2 separate regions of the Homo sapiens genome follow, and region 2 is linked to region 1. The links are contacts of gene promoters, found by promoter capture Hi-C in blood cells and fetal thymus (Javierre and others, 2016). All regions are on one chromosome and are shown on one strand. The core of a region is centred on a gene start or on the middle of the fragment in contact, and the rest is flanking DNA. Distances in the headings are between cores, read along the strand shown.

Region 1 (6,566 bases), core at 493-2,992:
TTGTTAATTTATTCCCAAATTTCATAACAGATGTCTTAACTGCCACTTCCTATATGCATGGAAAAAAATGAAAGGACCAATATGAACCCAAGGCTCAAAACTGAAAATCTGCTACAATGTAGAGGGGTAACTAATATCTTGTAATGCGGCTGGTAACAAAATCTAGTCCCATGTTTCTACAACATGTAAATAAAGCATCTGAGTGTCTTCAAACAATAACCAGTCGATTTATTAACTTCAATGTGTGCAAAGCTCACAACATTCTTGAACCTCAGGCTGTCAGTAAATCGGACATCCACACATCCAACCTCATCGGACTGGGGAGAGAACAGAAAAACTCAAAACAACATTCCTATTAAGTTCATAGTGATTATCTAGCTTAAACTTTTCAGCCCAGGCAGGATTTATAGGGTTCTCCGTTTGTGTTTATAAATTAGGAGAAATTCACTAAATTAGGCAAAACCACAAAAAAAAATCATTTTCCATTTCACACAAAACTTTATCTGCACAAATATAACAAGATTTTGAGAACTTTGTTAATAAGAGTCTTAACATTTTGGATTTGAGACTTCTGTAACTACTGTAAAAAAAAAAAAAAACCATGTAGAAGTAAATGTCACTTACAGCTGTATAATGAACCCTTCGGAGTTTTCAAAATCAAACGACTGAGGTAAAAATGATTATCTACAAGGCACAGACAAAACAACAACAACAACAAAAAACCACGGGCCCGTCATCTACAACCACCACCAAATCTTCAATATTTCCTTAGGTGTCGTATGTGTGTAGTTGAGTAACTGTCGTCTCTCCATTTCTCAGGTCACGGTGTGAACTACCTGGGTTTCTGTCCACTAACTGCGGGCTATCTCAGTGGTCAGTTCATTCTTTTTACCACAGGGTGGGGGAAGGGAGAGCCAAAAGTTATTTCCCTTTACTGTTTCTAGCTGTCTCGTGTGGGAAAAAAAGGTTGAAATTCAACTACAATATTTCACTCATCTAATCCCTCGAACAAACTGTATAAGTAGACCTCAGGGTCATAAATGAGTTACTGGCCCTGGGCTGACTTGAGCTCGAAAAGACAGGCGAGTCTCAAGGCTTTCCATATGGATAAGCTACAAGGCTCAATTCCCAACTTCCCGGTCTCATTCCTGCGAGAGGCTCCGGACCGCGAAGCTTGCACGTGGGCCGACCCGGCCGATGCTGTCACCTTTCGTCGCCAGCCGGCGGGTGGGATCCACGCCGGAGAGCAGACTCTCAACCGGCGAGGGAGTCCGGGAGGCCACGCTGCCAGTCTTCGGCCCACACATGGCCGGCAAGCGGAGGGGAAGAGAGCACCGCCAGGCCCTATGCTCGCGCCTGGACCCACGGCCCGCAGGCCCCGGCAGCGACCCGGGGCCCAGAGTCGGCCGGCAACAGCGCCAGCCCGCTTCCGCGCTGCCCGGCGCCCTAGCCCGCACCCACCTTGACGTCCTCGTCCTCGTCCTCGCCTTCCCAGCGGTCCCCGCCGGCAGTGCCGCCGCCCCCCACCTTCCGCACTGGGTCTTCCACGGAGAAAGCGTCGGCGTCTACGGAAGAAAGCGAGCCGTGTTAGTGCCTGCCACTGCGTGGGGCCGGCGCCGGCCCGGGCCCTGCCCCAGCAACTTCTCCTCACCCCAGGAGTCCGAGTCCCCCGCCGCCGCCGCCGCCGCCGCCATCTCGAGCCGGGTGTGAGCGTGTGTGAGAGGGAGAGCTAGCGAGGAGTTAGCACGGCGGAGGTGAGTCACTGGGTTTGCTCTCGTTGACCGGCGCGGAGCAGGATGGGACCGTGGCTGACTGTGCGCCGAGCCGAGGCCACGCCCCCTCAGGCGGCGGCGGCGACGCGCGCGGGTAAGAAGTGGGCGGGGAACGCGGTCGGTGGCGCTGCGGGGCTGAGGGAGAGGCGGAGGGGGGGGCGGAGGGGGGCGGAGGGAGGGGCGGAAAGAGCAGAGGGAGGGGCACAGGGGGCTGAGGAGTGCTGGGTCGGGCTTCCAGCTCCCTACAACGCAGACCAGTACTGGAGTTCGTGGTGCTGGAAGACCGCCGCCCGACTCTGGGCCCCGGGTAGGAAACGTAAGTGCCAGGAAGTTAGCAGAGTGGTTCTTTGGCTGGCGCCTGAACCTCGCCAGTCTTCGTCGCCCCTCCCCTGCCAACGCCTACCCCGCTTCGACCGGAGGGTGCGCTGTCCCTCTGGTCACTGTGATCACCGTCCATGGCCGCCTGCGGATACCCACGCCGTGCTCAGAAGAGGGCTCTGAGGCCACGCCCGCCTGTGGGGTCGGTGGCCGGGCTTCCGGGACCCCAGAGGGAGTCGTCGCGCGCTAGGTGGAGGGGACCCCTCTGGAATCCGGCGATCCCCGGGCGCAGATGCAGGAGCGGGTGGGGAGAGCCGCGTTCCTGGCATGTTTGCCTCGAGTTAGTCACGAAGGAATCGAAGAGAGCCTTAGTCTTCGAGGCTTTTCCCTTCCTGTGAGCCCCTTTGAGGCCAGCACATTGATTTTTTTTTCTTTCGCAGAACAATTTCGGACCTCCTGGGGTCTATGCTAGGTATGAGGTGTATCTTTGCCCTCCATCAAGTAGCAAAGATGGACATGTAAACAAATTTCGACACTGTGATGACTGCCACAAAAAGCAGCATTATGAGGTTGAATGTAAAAGGATAACCTTAGCGGCGGCGGGGGCCGGAGGATGAAGGAAGGCTTCCTGAGGTAGGCGCTGGTTGAAACTGAAGTTGGAGAGAGCAAGTGGCATTTGCTGAAGTGCATTTCCGGTAGAAAACTCCAGTGGTCCCTCACCTGACTGAGTGGCGCAGTCAGAGATAAATGGAACAGGTACACTGACCAGAAAGGGCAAGATGGGCTAAACTTCGCCGTTGGGCCACTGGGCTCCCCCGCAGGATTTTAAAGAGCTAGCCAGTAGATGGATTTTGTTTTTGTTATTTTCGCAATTTATTTTCAAATATGTAATACGCGAACTTGGTACAACATTCATGTGATAAAAAGGTAGATACGTGGGCAGGACGCGGTGGCTCACGCCTGTAATCCCAGCATTTTGGGAGGCCGAGATGGGCGGATCATTTGCTGTCAGGAGTTCGAGACCAGCCTGGCCAACATGGTAAAACCCCACCTCTACTAAAAATACAAAAATCACCTGGGCGTGGTGGCGGGCGCCTGTAATCCCCACTACTAGGGAGGCTGAGGCAGGAGAATCGCTTGAACCCGGGAGGCGGAGGTTGCAACAGTGAGCCGAGATCGCGCCACGGCTCTCCAGCCTGGGCGACAGTTAGACCCGTCTCAAAAAAAAAAAAAAAACAAAAAAGGTAGATACAACGATCAGCTGCTCCGCTCCGTTCTTTCTAGTGGTAACCATTGTTCCCCCTTTCTGGTGTTATCTTTTCAGAGTCTACAAATAAACATTTTATAAAGATGATCCTTCAATACATATTCTACAGCCCAGTTAAAATGTGAGAGGCCATGATCTACAGACAGCCATTTATAAAGGTGGATCAGGGCCGGACACGGTGGCTCAACGTCTGTAATCCCGGCACTGTGGGAGGCCAAAGCGGGAGGATCGCTTGAGCCCAGGAGTTCGAGACCAACCTGGCCAACATGGTGAGACCCCATCTTTACAAAAAAATATATATATCCAGGCATAGTGGTGTGCACCTGTGGTCCTGTGGTCCCAGCTACTCAGGAAGCTGAGGCAGTTGAGGCTGCAGTGAGCCACGTTCTGGCCACTACACTCCAGCCTGGGCATCAAAGTGACAAGACCAAAAAAAAAAAAAAATGTGGATTGGAAGGAGGCAAGAAAGAAGTCAGGAAAAGGGTGGAATGTAAGTCCCTAAGGACACAATCTTACTCACAATTGTATCTCCAACATTTGGCATAATGCCTAATACGTAAGTATTTTATGAATTAATTAAACGAGAACACAAGCCTAAATTAAGGCAATGGCAATGGAGAAGAAGAAACCAACTTGAGAAATATTTAAAGGTCATTGTCAATGGAACTTAGTGACTTTAATGGTTAATTTTATCTATCAACTTGGCTAGGCGATGCTACCCATGTTACTCAGTTTTTGGTCAAACACTAGTCTAGTTGTTGCTATGAATTGTATTTGTTAGATGTGATTAACATTTAAATCAGCAGACTTTGATTAAAGTACATTACCCTCTATAATGAGGGTGGGCCGCATCCGGTCAGTTCAAATTAAAACGAGACCCTTAAGAAGAAGCAATTCAGCCTCCAGACTGCAGCGTCAAATCTCCCTGGGTCTCCAGGCTGTTTGTCTGCCCTGCAGATTTCAGACTTGCCAGCTCCCAGAATAATGTGAGCCAATTCCTTAAAATAAATCTCTTTCTGCATATACACATCCTATTGATTCTGTTTCTCTGGAGAACCCGTACTAATATAGTGTCTGACTAGATATGAAGGAGGAGGGGAAGGGAGAAATAGATAGACGATGCCTTTGGATATTGAGTGACACTTATCTAGTTGCTTAAGTCAAAAACCTGAAAACTGGTTAGGCACGCCTATTACGGGCTCACGCCTGTAATCCCAGCACTTAGGGAGGCTGAGGCAGGCAGATCATTTGAAGTAATTCAAGACCAGCCTGGCCAACATGATGAAACCCCAAGACCACTAAAAATACAAAAATTAGCCGGGCGTGGTGGCACATGCCTGTAACCCCAGCTCCTCAGGAGGCTAAAGCAGGAAAATTGCTTGAACCCAGGAAACAGAGGTTGCAGTGAGCCGAGATTGTGCTACTCCACTCCAGCCTGGGAGAGACTCCATCTGAAAACAAACAACAAAAAAAAATGCTGGGCACAGTGGCTCACGCCTGTAATCCCAGCACTTTAGGAGGCTGAGGCGGGCGGATCACCTGAGGTCAGGAGTTCAAGACCAGCCTGGCCAATGTGGCAAACCCCATCTCTACTAAAAATAAAAAAAAAATTAGCTGGGCATGTTGGCGGGCACCGTAATACCAGCTACTCGGGAAGATGAGGCAGGAGAATCACTTGAACCGGGAGGCAGAAGTTGCAGTGAGCTAAGATCGCGCCATTGCACTTTAGCCTGGGCGACGAGCGAAACTCCCTCTCAAAAAAAAAGAAGAAGGCTGGGCGCGGTGGCTCATGCCTGTAATCCCAGCACTTTGGGAGGCCGAGGTGGGTGGATCACTTGAGGTCAGTAGTTCGAGACTAGCCTGGACATGGTGAAACCTGTCTCTACTAAAAATACAAAAATTAGCCAGGTATAGTGGCTCATGCCTATAATTCCAGCTACTTGGGAGGTTGAGGCAGGACAATGGTTTGAACCCAGGAGGCAGAGGTTGTAGTGAGCTGAGATTGTGCCACTGCACTCCAGCCTGGATGACACTCTATCAAAAAAAAAAAAAAGAAAAGAAAAAAAAAAAAAAACTGGGGCATGTGGGTTGAAGGTGCTATGGAAAAATTCATGGGCTATGTGTATGCAGCATTGTTTTCAAAGCAGAAATTGAGAATTTATTTATAGTGGTGTGCATACTGCTTTTTCAAATGAGGAAACAGGAAAACAAGGTTCTAGACCTATGTATTAGGGACTTCCTTTAGTCTGTAAAACTTGTGCCAGGCGTGGTGGCTCACACCTGTAATCCCAGCACTTTGGGTGGCTGAGGCAGGTGGATCACCTGAAGTCAGGAGTTCCAAGACCAGGCTGGCCAACCTGGTGATACCCCCGTCTCTACTAAAAATACAAAAAAATAGCCGGATGTGGTGGTGCACTCCTGTAATCCCAGCTATTTGGAAGGCTGAGGCAGGAGAATCGCTTGAACCCAGGAGGCAGAGGTTGCAGTGAGCCAAGATCATGCCACTGCACCCAGCCTGGGCAACAGAGCGAGTCTCTGTCTCAAAACAAACACACAAAAAAACTTGTGATTCACAGGTTAGTCTCTAGGGGAGCTCTATAATCACAAAGACAGTGACAGTATTCCCATTTTACAGATGAGCAGACTAGGTAATCAATGTTTCTTAACAAATTAACATTAAAACTTCTGTCAGGAAGTTCCAGGCCAGGCACAGTGGCTCACATCTAAAATGCCGGCACTTAGGAAGGCTGAGGCAGGAGGATCACTTGAGCTCATTTCAAGACCAGCCTGGGCAACATGGCAAGACTCCATCTCTACAAAAAATAAAAAATTAGCTGGGCATGGTGGCACACACCTGTAGTTCCTGCTACTCAGGGGGCTGAAGTGGGAGGGCCACTTGAGCCTGGGAGGTTGAGGTTGCAGTGAGCCATGATCGTGCCACTGCACTCCAGCCTGGATGACAGAGCCAGCCCGTCTCAAAAAAAGTTTCCTCATGGCTGGGTGCAGTGGCTTATGCCTGTCATCCGAGCACTTTGGGAGGCAGAGACGGGTGGATCACCTGAACTCAGGAGTTCCACCAGCTACTCAGGAGGCTGAGGCAGGAGAATCACTTGAACCCAGGAGGTGGAGGTTGCAGTGAGCTGAGATCCCGCCACTGCACTCCAGACTAAGTAACAGAGTGAGACTTCATGTCAAAAAAAAAAAAAAAG
Region 2 (6,849 bases), core at 387-2,886, 320 kb after region 1:
AGAAAACTTCTATCAATTTCCTATCTCCATGGAGGAACTGCAACAGCTAGGGTCAGTTTTGAGAAAGCGTGCATCCAATTGTGTCATGCACAGAATTTTCTCTTTACAATGAACTGGACCCAGTCAATTCAAGGGTTTCCACAGTATCCCTCATGGCTCCAGAAGTCTCTAGGCTACTAGAAAAGACCTGGATCTTTCAATAGTGCCCTTCCCCAAAAAGAGTTGGGGAGATCATGTTTGAGTTTCCCAACCTTGTAGATTTCCAGCAGGAACAGGTGATAAAAAGCACAGATGGTCCTGTTTTGGTCATTAAATTCTAGCGACATATGGTGAGGAGAATGCTTTTTAGACTTTCTATGTGAGATCACATATCTACTGGAATAAAACGTTTGTTACTGGTGACATCTTTAGGATCCTGAGAGAATGACCCTTCTCTGTGACATTCAATAATATGCTTCTCCATGACCTAGGAGAGGACAGAACTGAAGAAAGTAGTAAGTGATGGAATTGTAGAAAGGAAAACTCTTCGTCTCCTCAAATCCTTGAGATCATTGCAGCAGGGATAGGGGCAGGGGCAGAAGCAGAGGCAAGGAATGGACTATGACAGAAAAGGTTTGTGTGAGGGACAGTTACTAAGAGTGAAGCTTTGTTCCCAAGGTAAACCCAGACAAACCACAGAGAAAGAAGAATGTGGGAAACACATTATGGAATTTGCAAGATACGTCTCTAATTATTATGGATCTATTGTGATGTGATCTACTGTTTGGGGTCCTTCAAAGTAATGGGTATAGAGCCTAGAACACAGGACCAAGAACCAGCATTTTTTTTTTTTTTTCTAATCAAGAGTCTTTCTAAAAGCTGCTGAGCTCTTAGACCAACTTTGTAGTTTAGACAGTCTTTTGGTAACTAATGGGAATTGTTGTACCTAATTACAACAATGGAGAGAAATACCATACTAAATACTTTGAGTCATAATGTCAATCAGTTTAAGTTAAATCTTTACTTTCCACAAGCATTATTTCTTTTTTTTTGAGATGGAGTCTCGCTCTGTCCCCCAGGCTGGAGTGCAGTGGCGGGATCTCAGCTCACTGCAAGCTCTGCCTTCCTGGTTCACACCATTCTCCTGCCTCAGCCTCCCGAGTAGCTGGGACAACAGGCGCCTGCCACCATGCCCGGCTACTTTTTTGTATTTTTAATAGAGACGGGGTTTCACCGTGTTAGCCAGGATGGTCTCGATCTCCTGACCTCGTGATCCGCCCGCCTTGGCCTCCCAAAGTGTTGGGATTACAGGCGTGAGCCACTGCGACCAGCCAGCATTACTTCTTTTAGTGACCCCTGGCTACTTCTAAATGATGTGCCTGATTTCAACTATGAATTTCCACTTTTTTTTTCCGTGCTGTATCCAAACTTCATTCTGGATTACAGTGCTTGGCAATATGTCCAATGATCATGGTTTGTAACGGGAAAAATCCTGGCTATTGCCTTCATAAGGCTTAGACATCTTATATAGTCCTGGCAGAACTTTTATTGATAAACAAAAACAACAACAAAAACCCAGGATGTTGACCTGCATTTTCTAGGTTTGAAGTTAAAACAAATTTTGCACAGGCTATATAATTTAGTCAATGGGCACTCCCAAACCTCAGACTGGAAATATGAAACCCGGTTAAAAGCCAATAAAGAAAACCTGATGTGATCCCAGAGCTAATTAGGAGAATCTACTAAAAACATTCTTGTTAATAATGCAAGTGCTGGGCTCGTTGTCACAGTGTTAGAAGAACCGTAACTGTGTTCTCTCTCTCTCTCTCTTCTTTTTTTTTGAGACGGAGTCTGGCTCTGTTGCCCAGGCTGGAGTGCAGTGGTGCGATCTCGGCTCACTGAAAGCTCCGCCTCCCGGGTTCACGCCATTCTCCCGCCTCAGCCTCCTGAGTAGCTGGGACTATAGGCACCAACCACCACACCCGGCTAATTTTGTTTTTGTATTTTTAGTGGAGACGGGGTTTCACCGTGTTATCCAGGATGGTCTCGGTCTCCTGACCTCATGATCCGCCTGCCTCGGCCACCCAAAGTGCTGGGATTACAGACATGAGCCACCACACCCAGCCACTGTGTCCTCTTAATTCCACCTCAATTTTAAGTGAAAGATGGGCATACAAATCAGAAGGAAATAGCATTGCCAGTGCCATGTTATGCCCTACCTTGGTCTGGAGCCAGGTGCACGATAACCAGAAGATCAGCTCTTACTGGCCAATGGGAGTGTTTATGTCTCTTAATCACAGTGGACATGTCTGAGAGACTGCCGGCTCTAGTAGACTGCTCACTGATACCTGGTTCCTCTTCATGTGGAAAGATCACAATAACCTGTCCTGTTGAGCTCAGATGTCACCATGTGAGTTGCTTTGGCCATTGAAATGTGAGTGGAAGCTCTGGGGGTTCCTCTGGCAGAAGTTTTAAGAGCCAGAGCATGCTTTTTCATGGTCTGCTTTTCCTCTGCCATGGTTACCAATAACATTCCAGACAGAAGTTGCTCTGGCAGTCTGGGTGCCAAAGTGAAAATAATGATGGAGAGAGCAGAGCAACTTTGCTGACCTCCAATGCACATGTGGTGTGAATGAGATGTAAGCTTTTGCTTTTTTAAGGTTGTTTGTCACTGTAGCACAACCCTACATCATACATTCTCAATGGGAGAGGTTTCACCCCATGGAAGGCAAAAATTGGCCTTTTTTTTTTTTTGAGACGGAGTTTTGTTCTTGTTGCCCAGGCTGGAGTGCAATGGCGTGGTCTTGGCTCACTGCAACCTCCACCTCCTCGGTTCAAGCAATTCTCCTGCCTCAGCCTCCCAAGAAGCTGGGATTACAAGTGCCCGCCACCATGTCAGCTGATTTTTTTTTTTTTTTTTTTTGTATTTTTAGTAGAGATGGGGTTTCACCATGTTGGCCAGGCTGGTCTCGAACTCCTGACCTCAAATGATCCACCCACCTTGGCCTCCCAAAGTGCTGGGATTACAGGCGTGAGCCACCGTGCCCGGGCTTTTTTTTTTTTTTTAAATGTTATAAAACTCAGATGTGCTGGGTGTGGTGGCTCATGCAACATAGTGAGCCCTAATCCCTTAACAAACAAATAAGACAATTAGCCACGTGTAGTGGCCTGCACCTGCAATCCCAGCTACTTGAGAGACTGAGACAGGAGGATTTTTGAGCCCCCCAAATAAAAAAAACAAAAACAAAACACACAGATGTTATTGTATATATAGTACACAAATAGATATACTATATATTAAATATTTATGGGGGGATGATTAGGAAAAAAGTCTAAAAAGGCTCCTTGAGAGGTGATAATGAAATAAAGGTTGAGTAACATTGGTCTATAATGGTCAGGTTATCTTCATCAAATCTAATTTAGGGGGTTCTCAGCTCTAGTGGAACATTTAAGTCTTTTGGAGAGCTTTTTAAAAACACTGATATCCAAGTCTAGTTCCCAGAAATTCTAATTTAATTGGCAGAATTAACATATATATATATATATATATATATATATATATATATATATATTTTTTTTTTTTTTTTTTTTTTTTTTTTAACAGTTCCCAGGTAATTCTAATTTGCAGACAGGGTTAAGAACCACTGGACCAGACATTCTCAAAGACAAAGCCGCATTGCTTCCCCCAGGGAGAAGTCACACAAATAGCAGAGAAATAGCACAGAGCACAGGAAGTGGCTGGCATGGAGTACAACTCACTCCTGTTTTAGACGGGCTATTCTGGCCTCATACCAGGTAACAAAAAGCTGCATTCATCAAGAAGAGACAGCAATGTCCGCTTTCTGTATTTTATCATTCCCATTTCATGACACACTATTTGAATGCAGAAGGTCCTTTATGAGTCATTTGGAAAACACAAGAAGGCCAAAAAATGGCTGTGGTTATTCCTGGACTAGTACCCATAATCAGCATTTTCTGCACAGATGCATTTGGAAATCATCTCTAGCTCAGCTCCTAAAATTCTAAGTTCTTACTGAGTGAGTTAAAAAAGCCACTCAGCATGAGATCTTTATCTCCTATTCCTAGGAAACTCTAGATGCCAGAAGGGAACTTTCATATAGTGTGTAAAAGTTAAAAATTAAAGAAAATTAAAAACAATTAGGAGGGCACTTTCTCTGTCTTTGCATAGAAAGAGGCTTGGGCTAAATTGCAGTGACATGGGATTATCGTGACTGAATTTGGTCATTAGATGGATCACCACTTATTCTTCCCTGAAATGTGACTTGGAATTGACAATGGTATGGCCATATATATATATATATATATATGTATTTTTTTTTTTTAGATGGAGTTTTGCTCTTGTCACCTAGGCTGGAGTGCAATGGCACAATCTCGGCTCACTGCAACCTCTTCTGGTTATGGCTATATTTTAATGAAGTGGCTCATTTTCAGGTTGGAAGTTGAAATTATAATGTGTTAATTAATAAGGGTATCACCTTGATTTTTTCCTTTACACATTTGCACACTCAGATGGTATTTACATTGGTCTCATTTATTTGGAGGTTAAAATTAAAAGATGTGGATTGGCTTTCCTGATGTTAATTTTGGTCACTGAGCACCTAGCTCAAGGGAAGGTGGAGATATTTGCAGGCATTACTTGTGAAATTTCTTGAAGCATAAACATAAAATTTCCAGGAAATTCTCCACAAGGAGAGTCAGCATCAGTTGTACAAATTGACAAATGCTCACAACTATCTTGTCAACACTTGGTTGGTGATTTGGGCAGATACAGAAATAAAAAAAATCAAGTGTTGCAGTTATTAGTAGAGGCCAGAATGGATTTGAAATGTGAAGATGGACAAAACGTGGATCCTAAAGGGCTTAAACGCTAAGTATCTGCAATTCATTGTCTCTAATTTTTAAAATTTCTTTTCAATTTTTTAAATTGACAAAAATGTTATGTATAAGCCGAATGTAGAGATAAATGCCTTTAGTCGCAGCTACTTGGGAGGCTGAGGTGGGAGGATCCTTTGAGCCCAAAAGTTCAAGGTCAGCCTGGGCAACAGAGAGACCCCCATCTCAGAAACAAAACAAAATTATATATAAAATTGTACATAATAAATATATATAATTATATATAAAAATATATATATTTATTATATACAACATGGTGTTTTGAAATATTATGGAATGGCCCAATTGATCTAATTAACATATGCATTACCTCCTTATCTCTCGTTTCAAAGAATGGCAATTGTGAATCCTTTTTAGAACGCTGGCTAACCGCAATTCCTCATGTGGAGAAAGCAACACAGTGACTGTATGATGTTGCTCGTCTACCCACAGCTGATTGAATAAGAGGTAGACACCTGACTTAAGTTAATTACATTCTTTCTCCTGGGAATTTGGAATTGGGATGCAGAGTCTTTGGTTTGTTTATACTGGGCACTGGAACTGTTAGATAATGAAGAGCTGGGGCTGACTGCCATTTTCTACCAAGGGGATGTTGAAGCAGAGAAAGCCAATCTTCGAAGAAAGGAGAGAAGACATTATGGAGCCTAGAGGAGATGAAAGTAATATCTTCAGTTTGTGACTTTCAAGTTCCACGTCAAATCCCTTGTGAAACCTGACTGTCCTAACAGTTTTGGTTTTATAAGTTATGTGTGTATCTTTTCAATAAACATCATCCCCTTGTACTTGAACTAATTTGAGTGGGATTCAGTGCCCTACAATTATTGCTGTCTTAAGAAATATGTCTATGTCTCTATACATAGAATGGCTAAAATCTATGAAGAACATATGCCACATCTACTGCAGGTATTTGGCTTCTGAAAATTTTGCTTAAATTATTAAGGTTAGCCTTCCAGTAGATGAACTGGCTGTTTAGTATGACAGATGTGGCAGGCTCTGTGAGCAAATGGGTCACAAAGAAATGCTGATTGGCACGAAATCGTTTGCAGCAGTGGGCACATGTTTTACCATACATGTTCTAAACCAAAAAGTATAGATCTAAGCATGCAAAACCTATGGTTAAATTAGCTTTCTTTAACTTAATTAAACCCCGTTAATATAGAGAGACAAAGGAGATATGCACAGCAATTTAATGTCTCCATTATAAAAGACTTGAAAAGATTCTAAGATGGATGGAATAATCAGCTCTATCAGCTCCATCAATTTCTAGCCCCCTTTTGCTTCTGCTTTAGACCCCTGACACCAATTATGTAAATTTGACCCCACAGCATCTGATTGCTTTTGCATTATAATTTAAATGTAGGTGTCTTATGAAGACAAAAGGAAATGCATTCTTTTCAGAATTAAGAATTTGAACTGATACACTGATTTTGTTCCTGTTGAATTACCAGGCAGCTGGAGAAACAGCTGGACCAGTTTCTGAAGATCAAAAAAAGAAACCTCAAGTCCGAATTACAATACGGATTTCATCAGAATTTTATAGTATTGTTTAATAAATACAAAACAGCTGAGCGCGGTGGCACATTGCCTGTAATCCCAGCACTTTGGAAGGCCAAGGCGGGCAGATCACCCAAGGTCAGGGGTTCGAGACCAGCCTGGCCAATATGGTGAAACCCCGTCTCTACTAAAAATACAAAAATCAGCCGGGTGTGGTGGTGGACGCCTGTAATCTCAGCTACTAGGGAGGCTGAGGCAGAAGAATAGTTTGAACCCAGTAGGCAGAGGTTGCAACGAGCTGAGATCATGCCTTTGCACTCCAGCCTGGGTGACAAGAGCAAAACTCCATCTCAAAATAATAATAATAATAATAAATACAAAACACACTTTACTGGTAATTGGTTGCTTTCCTGTTTACATTAGCAAATGTATTATGAAGACAGTGCCAAATGTACTAGGAGT

Evidence for each region. The method cuts DNA at HindIII sites, captures the fragments that hold promoters and counts their contacts. A CHiCAGO score of 5 or more calls a contact.
Region 2: a contact is called between a fragment that was not itself captured here and the fragment with the promoter of EIF3J in region 1, in 1 of 17 cell types (erythroblasts). The highest score is 5.0, in erythroblasts.

The regions. Positions count from the first base shown.
Region 1 is chr15:44,532,323-44,538,888 of GRCh38, reverse strand. It overlaps EIF3J (eukaryotic translation initiation factor 3 subunit J), which reads right to left and starts at 1,742. Exons shown (of 8, transcript NM_003758.4): 1 at 1,652-1,742; 2 at 1,462-1,565. The coding sequence starts at 1,694. EIF3J-DT (EIF3J divergent transcript) reads left to right here and starts at 1,966. Exons shown (of 2, transcript NR_034170.1): 1 at 1,966-2,846; 2 at 3,415-4,384. RefSeq lists silencers at 1,240-1,289, 1,310-1,619, 1,810-1,979 and enhancers at 2,150-2,599, 2,287-3,074. The HindIII fragment of the contact is 7,095 bases long and covers 1,176-6,566 here.
Region 2 is chr15:44,212,767-44,219,615 of GRCh38, reverse strand. No RefSeq gene overlaps it. Among named protein-coding and RNA genes, the nearest start is that of FRMD5, 21 kb to the right of the region's middle. The HindIII fragment of the contact is 1,979 bases long and covers 647-2,625 here.